2 separate regions of the Homo sapiens genome follow, and region 1 is linked to region 2. Evidence: promoter capture Hi-C in 16 types of primary human blood cells and fetal thymus (Javierre and others, 2016). All regions are on one chromosome and are shown on one strand. The core of a region is centred on a gene start or on the middle of the fragment in contact, and the rest is flanking DNA. Distances in the headings are between cores, read along the strand shown. Region 1 has its middle 35 kb from the start of CCL2. Region 2 holds the start of CCL8 (C-C motif chemokine ligand 8).

What was found. Contacts are between HindIII fragments. The CHiCAGO score rates a contact against its expected background, and 5 or more counts as called.
Region 1: a contact is called between a fragment that was not itself captured here and the fragment with the promoter of CCL8 in region 2, in 1 of 17 cell types (monocytes). The highest score is 5.9, in monocytes.

Annotation. Positions count from the first base shown.
Region 1 is chr17:34,217,790-34,221,856 of GRCh38, reverse strand. No RefSeq gene overlaps it. Among named protein-coding and RNA genes, the nearest start is that of CCL2, 35 kb to the left of the region's middle. The HindIII fragment of the contact is 511 bases long and covers 2,005-2,515 here.
Region 2 is chr17:34,316,332-34,321,068 of GRCh38, reverse strand. CCL8 (C-C motif chemokine ligand 8) reads right to left here and starts at 1,634. Exons shown (of 3, transcript NM_005623.3): 1 at 1,492-1,634; 2 at 683-800; 3 at 1-267. The coding sequence starts at 1,567. The coding sequence ends at 162. The HindIII fragment of the contact is 3,664 bases long and covers 1,215-4,737 here.

The DNA of each region.
Region 1 (4,067 bases), core at 1,011-3,510, 100 kb after region 2:
GAATTTGGCACTGGGTGGCAGGGGTGGCAAGCAGTGCAAAAAGATAAAAATGTTAGCTAGAAAGCTGTCACTGTCCCCATTCCCAGCCTTCTCACCCTGCTGGATAGTGATCTAACCACTGCTCCTCAAGCTTCAATGTGGGTTGCAATTCCTGGGGAACTTGTTAACATGCAGACTTTGGTTGAATGGGTCTGGGATGGGGATGAAATCCTGCATGTTTAACAAGCTCCAGGGTGATGCAGATGCTGCCTCATTGGGGACTGCACTGTGTGTAGCAAGATGTAGAGAACAATGACAATATGCATGGAGCACCTACTCCGTGCCACAACTTTGCTGAGCTCTTTGTACGTACGTTTCTATTCAATGATCTCAACAGCAAAGAGGCAGTTACGGTTGTTATCCCTATTTTACTGATAAAGGAACTAGATTTCAGGGAGGTAAGGTAGTTTATTCTAAGTTACATAGACATTTTAGCCTGGTCTCTGAATTTTTCATGCCATGTAGAACAAACAAAATGCAGTCAGAGAGCCCATGAGCTTATTAAACTTCAGATCCTTTCGCGGAAACCTTATTGCGGCATGCTAACCCCAAGAAGGATTCAATCATTACTCACATCCCAAAAGGAAGGAAGAGGCAGTTTTCTCTTTTTAATCTCATGACCGAGAGGGGTGACTTTAAGAAACAGCCCTGGATGACCACAGGCAAAAAGATAGGGGAGGGTAGAAGATCAGTGAAGCAAATGTCTTTAAATGCCAATGGTGACTGATGCAGTGTCTTGGTGTGAGGGGGATGGGAAGCAGTGATTATGGGCCATGGTGCGCCAAGCAGCCATTTGTTGCTCTATGTACATTTTCATGGTTTGGGACAAGGCATGGACAGGCAGCCTGGGAAGGTCTCATTTCCACTGTCAGAGATTATGTGATGCAGGGAGCACTCCAGAGGTGTTACATAATCTGCCATTGCAACATCCACACCTAGGGTTTCTTGCTTCCTCTGGCCAGATCTAGAAAGCAAGTCAAAAGTCACAGAAGGAGGCAATATTTAGGCTCTAGGCTGAAAAATCCCATGGGAGCAATGAGAGACAATGGCTGAGGAGAGCTCTGACCATCTCTCTCAGCTAGGAAAGGCTGGCTGTTATTATTTATGCTGGTCCAAAAGCAATATTTGGGAATTGACTTTTGGTGCCCAGTAGCTGAGCTGGCAAGGCAGGTGTTGTCTGTGAACCACTAGCCTCAGAATCACCTAGCATTTCTTAAAGGTGACTGAGCCTCTCTCCAGACCTACTGAATCAGAATGTGGGGGGTGAGGGTGGACTTTCATTTTTAACATATTTCTCAGGTGATTTGCATGCACTTTAAGAACTGCTTATAGACTCCATTAGCAGCATGAGAAACCTAGACAAGATAGGAAAATAATATGGGTTCTGGAGTCAAACAAACCTCCCAGACTTGTGCCATATCCTTGAAGCTTATTAGCTATGTGATCTTGTACAAATTGCTTGACTTCTTTGATTCCCATTTGTAAAATGGGTTTATGATACTCCACACTGAGGAGTGTTGTGAAGGTCAGAAGACTGTGTTTGCAAATGCCTGCTGCATATCAGGCACTCAACAAATACTTGTGGGTTTAAGTTTAAATTAAGCATTTTCCAGGCTTCACTCTCAATCTTGTTAAAATAGCCTCAGGTGCTCATCTACCCAGGACATTTGCGATTGGTGGGTAGAAGAGTGTGGGAAAGTGAGGAGAACTTGGGTGATGTAATACGATGTATTCTCATTATTTTTGCCAATTTATAGGCTTTGAGACAGATGTGAGAATCGAGGTCTCAGCAGCCTGGGACACTGTGCTGTCTCTAACAAGATGCATTTTAGCAGGGATAGGAAAGATACTGACTTTGTACTTCACAAATTTAGGTGCAAACATGTGACCCAGGATAGGAAAATGAAGGTGAGCATAATAGGAAAATGAAGGTGAGCTTGGGTTGCTTTACAAGAAGTATAAGCTTTGGAATGAGGGAGTGGATCTCACTCTTCTTGTTCTGCTGGCCAGGACAGCCTGAAAACCTTCACACATTATGAGCTGGGGAGAGAGTGGGCCTTATCTTCAAAGGAGAGGAAATTGGGTGGTAAAAGGAGTTAAGGTCATATAATTGAGGAGTGTTTTTAAAGAGTGGAGTGGTTTAGCCTACCCAAAAAGAGGCAATACAGTCACTGTATGCAGTAATCTGAAAGCATGAGTTGGGGAAGTGGTCTAAAGGAGCAGAATTAACAACATTGGGTGAAAACTGCTGCGACAAAGATTTTAGTTTCTTAGAGGGAAGAACTTCAACAATGGCTACCGCTATTGTGCTCCTCTACCAGGTAAGTTCAATAGCTTTATGTCATCAACACTCAAGCAACCTGGCCAAGCAGGAATTTTTTTTCTCCATTTTTCAGATGAAGAAACAGACTTAAAGAAGGGAAGTGACTTGGCAAAGCCACATGGATTAAAAGGGTTGAAGCCAAGAACAAAAGCTTGGAAGTCAGAGGAGTCTGCTCCCTCCACTGTATTGGGTTCTCTATCTACAAGCAGAGGAGCCTGAAGAAGGAATGAGTTGATTGGAAAGTAATATGTTCCCTGTTATTGAAGGTGACCACCTGTCAATGATTCCATGGAAAAGACTCAAGAAAAACAAATTGGTAGATCTTTGGAGTTAGGATCTTAGACTCTAAAATCATACGCCACTTCAGTAACTCATTGGCTGAGATTTGCTTGTTTGTTTATTTCCTTTTTGCTGTTTTATAGACCTACTGTAGTCTAAGTGTTTGTCATAGGGCCAGGTCCCTGTAATGCATGCCCAAGAAATGACTTGGCTCTTAAAAAGGACTACAGTCATCTGTGATGGCCCCAAATGTCCTCCCAGTCCTCAGATGCACAGGCAGTTACTTGTCTCTCACTCATCACACATGGGGCAAGACTTCCTTCCCCCATCCTTGAGATTTCTTACAATCAGCTTTGGCTTTAAGTCTCTGTCCCCAGACACTTGCCAACCCCCAAGAGCTCATCTTTCAGTCCCAAACTTGGTATGGAGGAATTCCATGCTGGGTGAAAGCTAGGATTGCCAAAAAGCACAGAAGAGGAACACCCATGGAAGTTGCAGAGGTCTTGCTTCTTGGAAAAGAAAGAGCATAACTTTGGATTTAAATCTGGCATCTCTCACTGCTTGATGGAGTACTTTAGTAAGTCTCTTAATATCTTTCAGCCTCAGTTCAAAGACCATTGAGTGATATTATCAACACCTCACAAAGCTATGCAAAATCTAGAAGGCCACACACATACATATGACATTGTACCTGCTTAGGGCTGTATAAATGCTCAGAAAGACTTGAAAAGACCCTAAGCTCTCACCTCTGACTAAATTTGAGGCACTGAGCAAACAGGAAGTGAAAGCTAAGGCAGAGTAGGTTTTTTATTTTTTGAGATGGAGTCTTGCTCTGTCACCCAGGCTGGAGTGCAGTGGCGTGATCTCGGCTCACTGCAAGCTCCGCCTCCCAGGTTCAAAGAGTCTCCTGCCTCAGCATCTGGAGTAGCTGGAATTATAGGCACCTGCCACCACGCCTGGCTAATTTTTTTTTTTTTTTGTATTTTTATTAAAGATGAGGTTTCACTATGTTGGCCAGTCTGGTCTCAAACTCCTAACCACAAGTGATCCACCCACCTTGGCCTACCAAAGTGCTGGGATTACAGGTGTGAGCCACCACGTCCAGCCCACTAGGGCAGAGTTGTAAACAGCCCTTCTGTTGTTGAAAGTGAGCCCCAACACACAGAGCTCCCTGGCAAAGACTGAAAGACTTACTGGCCCCAAGTGTCTGAGGAAATTTCTATCCAGTCACTAGCTAAACACTAAGCTGATAAGAGATTTCAGTGGCCACATGTGACAAAAAATGCAGACTTTACAGAATTATCTTGTAAAAGTCATTAAACCTGAACATAAAAGCAAATAAAATGCAACAACAAAATTTGCATGGAGAATCTGCTTTTCAGGATTGCCATATTATATTATTTAAAATGTCCAGCTTCCCTATCAT
Region 2 (4,737 bases), core at 385-2,884:
TATAATTAAATACTTTTTAAGAAATATTATGCTTTAAATTATTTAAAAATAATCTCTTTGTGGATGTTATAATAAAATAATGTCACACTGCACCTGGGGGAGGTTGGGGAAAATAAATAAGCTTTTCTTCAAGCTCTGACTCTCAGTCCATGTATGAAGGCTCATGGCTTCAGATTTTGAAATATTTGGTCCAGATGCTTCATGGAATCCCTGACCCATCTCTCCTTGGGGTCAGCACAGACCTCCTTGCCCCGTTTGGTCTTGAAGCTGTGGGGGAGAGAGGGCACAATTAGATGGAAGACTTTGAAGATCCTGCACAGGACTGTGGGCCATTGGTCCCTAGAACTGATCAGCCCTTGGTCCTTAGGTGAAGGACCCGGACCCGGGAGAGGAGGGAGGGGAAGAGTGGGAGGAAGAAGCTCCAGAAGGAAGCTCTGCTCTTGCTGTCCAGGTGAAACCCTCCAGGGTCCTGGCTACAGATATTGGGTTAGTTTCACCAAGCCCCTAGAAGGGAATCCTAGAGCAGTTATGGACTCCTTCTCATGGACTGAGTTTCTCTATGGGGTAGAGGGGCCCTTTGGATAGAAGTTATATGCATCCGACTCATATGGACATGAATCTTGACTTCTCTATGTTGTCCATCAGAACTTTTGAATGGGGGTGCCAGGCACTGTCCACTCACATCACAGCTTCCTTGGGACATTGGATGTTGGTGATTCTTGTGTAGCTCTCCAGCCTCTGGATAGGAATTTTCCTATTGATCACGTTAAAGCAGCAGGTGATTGGAATGGAAACTGAATCTGAAAGAAATTTTGCAAAGAATGAGACATTTAGGACCCACCGTAAGTGTGCATTTGTAAGGAAAAGAAGAGAAGGAAGGAGAAGACCAAGAAGTCACCATCCCAAGTTCAGTGTCTTAGTCCAGATCCCAGAGATAAAATGTTGCCTGTGAGTCTCTTTCCTCTATTGAACTCTGCGGCCCGTCATTGTTGACTGGGTTTGGAAACATTTTGAGTAACAAGCTAGTCCTTGTCTACTAACCCAAAACTTCTGACACTGGGAACATAAGTTCCAATACCTTGCTTCCCAGTCTTTCATCCTCATGGGCTTTAGAGTTAGCCTATGCCATACGCTGAGATTCCTCTGGGTCCTCATCCTCTTTACACAGCCACTGTTCTGGAAGGTACACTGAACCATAACCAAAATTTGAAGCTTCAGGCAATAGTTTCTCCCTCTCCACTACGGCCTGAAATGTCCTTTACACCCACAGTGAGAAACAGTTCTTCGTTCTGGATTATTTCCCCAAACAATGGGAGGGTTGTTGCTGTAGCGGCTCCACTGTCTCCTCCCAAAACTGGGGTCAGGAAAGATCAAGGGAACCAGCCTCAGTGACCTGAGCCTTTAGTTCTGGTTTTGTTCCTAATGAGCTGTGACATAATGGCTCTTCTTAATTCCTCTTTTGGTCTCCCCTTAAAAAGGGAGAGGTCTTACCTGGCTGAGCAAGTCCCTGAGGGCTGAAAGTGGCTGCCATGAGCAGCAGGCACAGAAGCGCTGCAGAAACCTTCATCTTGGAGGGCAAGGGTGTGAGCTTCAGCATGAGAGGTGAAGGTTTCTGGGTTGTTCTCAACCTCTCTGCTCCTCGGTGGCTCTGCCTGCCTTTTATAGGGAGCAGAGAGCCTGGGCATGGTCACAATCAAGGAAGAATGAAGTAAGACCTTCCTTGAATATGCTGAGTAAGCACCAGATCCTGGGATAATTTCCAGATAACAAAACAAGGAAGTTGTGAGTTTCTATCTTTTGCTTAGGCTCTGTGGAGCAGAGGCTGAAGGGTATGGGATTGTGCTCAGCAAAGTGACCTCACTGAACTATTAAGGGCTCTGATTTCCTTGAAATGGAAAATTGTCTATAAGAAAGGAAGAATGGAAGCTGACGTCATAGTGGAAGAGAGCCAAGGGCCTACCCCTCTGTGGGTAACAGGAGGCCAGGGATGGGCCCTAAGGCTTTGCTGGTGCTCTCCATCACACTAGAGTCACTTGCAGTTCTAAGCCAGGCAAGCTCCTTTAGAACCCCAGCCACAGAACGTTGGCAGAATGACAGAATCCTGGAACTAAGTCTTAATGCCCCAGAATCTTACTGTTGCAGAGGGTAAGAACTAGACAGCACATGCTGGTCTTGTAGCATGGTGGTTTCCAAACATTTTATTTAGATGCTCAAGTTTCTTTCCAAATGAAATTATATGGAGAAGTCCAATATGTCATGGAGATTCAGGTGGAATGGGTCCGTCTGCAGAAGGCCTTCCAACTCTCTTGGTTCACACACAGTGGGGCTGTGGGCGGGGCGTGGCAAGAAGGAACCAGGTTTGCAAAAGACTGACCTCATCTACTCCCCCTGCAGGCCTGATCTATCCATCATTACAATATCATATAGAAGTTTTCCTGCTCTAAGAATTCACTGTATTCTTCTATTCATCCTTTTTCCTCTCCACAAATCTCTGGCTACCACTGATCTTTTTACTATCTCTGTGAGCTTGTCTTTTCCCAAGTATCATATGCATAGTTGGAATCATATAGTAGGCAGCCTTTTCAGACTGGCTTCTTTCACTAAGCAATATGCATTTAAGGTTTCTCCGTGCCTTGTTGTGGTTTGATAGCTAATTACTTCCTTTGTTCTTTATTCATTTATTATTTTTATTGTGGTAAAAATGCACATACCATCTTAACCATTTTTAAGTGCATAGTTTAGTGGCATTAAGAACATTCACACTGTTGTGCAACAGTCTCAATAACTCTTTTCATCTGTAAACAGAAATTCTATACCTATTGATCTCCAGTTTCCCCTCCCCCAAGCCCCTGGCAACCACCATTTCTACTTACTGTTTCTGATTTTGACTGCTCTAACTACCTCATGTGAGTGAAATCATATAGTATTTTTCTTTTGTGACTGGCTTATGTCATTTAGCGTAAGGATCTCAGGGTTCATCTATGTGGCAGCATATGATATGCTACATATCCTTAAGGCTGAGTAATATTCCCTTGTATGTATATAGTACATTTTATGTATCCATTCATCTGTTGAGGGCTCTCTATTCTGTTCCATTGATCCATTTGTCTATTCTTTCACCAATACCACACCGTCTTGATTACTGTTTCCTAATAGTAAATCTTGAAGTTGGGTAATGTTAGTCCTCTGACTATTCTTTTTCAGTACTGTGTTAGCTATTCTAGATCTTTAACCTTTCCATATAAACATTAAAATCAGTCTATCACATCCAAAAAGAACCTGCTGGGATTTGGACTGGGATTGTGTTGAAGGTACAGATCAAGTTGGGAAGAACTGACATGCTGACAACATTAACTCCACCTATCCATACATGTGGAATATCTCTTCATTTATTTAGATCGTCTTTAATCTTTCATCAGAAGTTTGTAGTTTCCCTCATATATATTGTACATCTTAGACTAATTTCTAAACACTTCATTTTATTGGTGTTAATGTAAATAGTATTGTGTATTAATTTCAAATTCTAGTTGCTCATTGCTGATATACAGGAAGTTATTGAATTTTATCTATTAGCCTTGTATCCTGTAGCTAAAATTGCTTATTAGTGGCATGACTTTTTTTTGTTGCTGATTCTCTGTAATTTTCTACACAGACAATCATGTCTTCTGCAAATAAATTCAGTTTTATTTATTCTTTCTAATCTGTATATATTTTTATTTTCTTGTCTTGTGCTGTTGTGTTGGCTAGGCCTTCCAGTATTATGTTGAATTGGAGTGGTGAGAAGAAACATCCTTGCCTTATACTCAATCTTAGGAGAAAAATATCTAGTTTCTCACCATTAAGTATGATATTTGCTGTAGGTCTTTTTTAATGCACTCTATAAAGCTGAGGAAGTATCCCTCTATTCCTAGTTTGCTGAGAGTTTTTTTTTTTAAATCATGAATGGCTGTTGAATTGTGTCAAAAAAAATTTTCCATCTATTGATATTATAATAAGATTTTCCTTCTTTAGAAAGTTGATATGATGGGTTATATCAACCAATTTTTGAACGCTGGATCAGCCTTGCATACCTGGAATAAATTCCACTTGGTTGTAGCTTATAATTCTTTTTATATGTTGTCGGATTTTATTTGCTGATATTTTGTTGAGAATTTTGTTCATGAGTTTGGTTTATAGATTTCTGTTGGTTTATAGTTTTCTTTTGTTGTAATGTCTTTATCTGGTTTTGATGTTAGGGTCATTCTGGACTCAGAATGAATTAGGAAGGGAGGAGAGGGGGCAATTACAAAATTTGTTCCTCAGGAATTCTCATTGTTTTATAGAAATAACATCGGTTAGTAATTGGCAATGTATTGTTGAACTATAGGGTGTATATCTAAAATTTCACCACCAAATCCAAGATTGAATACTGCCTTTTCAATTAGTGTGTTTAGATTTCTCACAAGACAGTAAATATTCCCCAATAATCTTGAACTTTAAAAGCTCTATAGGAGTTCATATATATCAGTGCACCATAATTAACTTAAGAATTTACTTCTCCATAGTTGGGAATCATACCATTTCCATTTTTATGGTTTTACACAATACTTGTGGAAAAGCTGATATAACATTATTATTAATGTCTTCGTTTAATTTTCTAGCCAAAGAATTAATAAATCAAAATATGTGGATATTATTAAGACTTTTAATCAAATGAACACATTGCTGGAAAATTTGCCCCTTCACTTAAATGTGAGT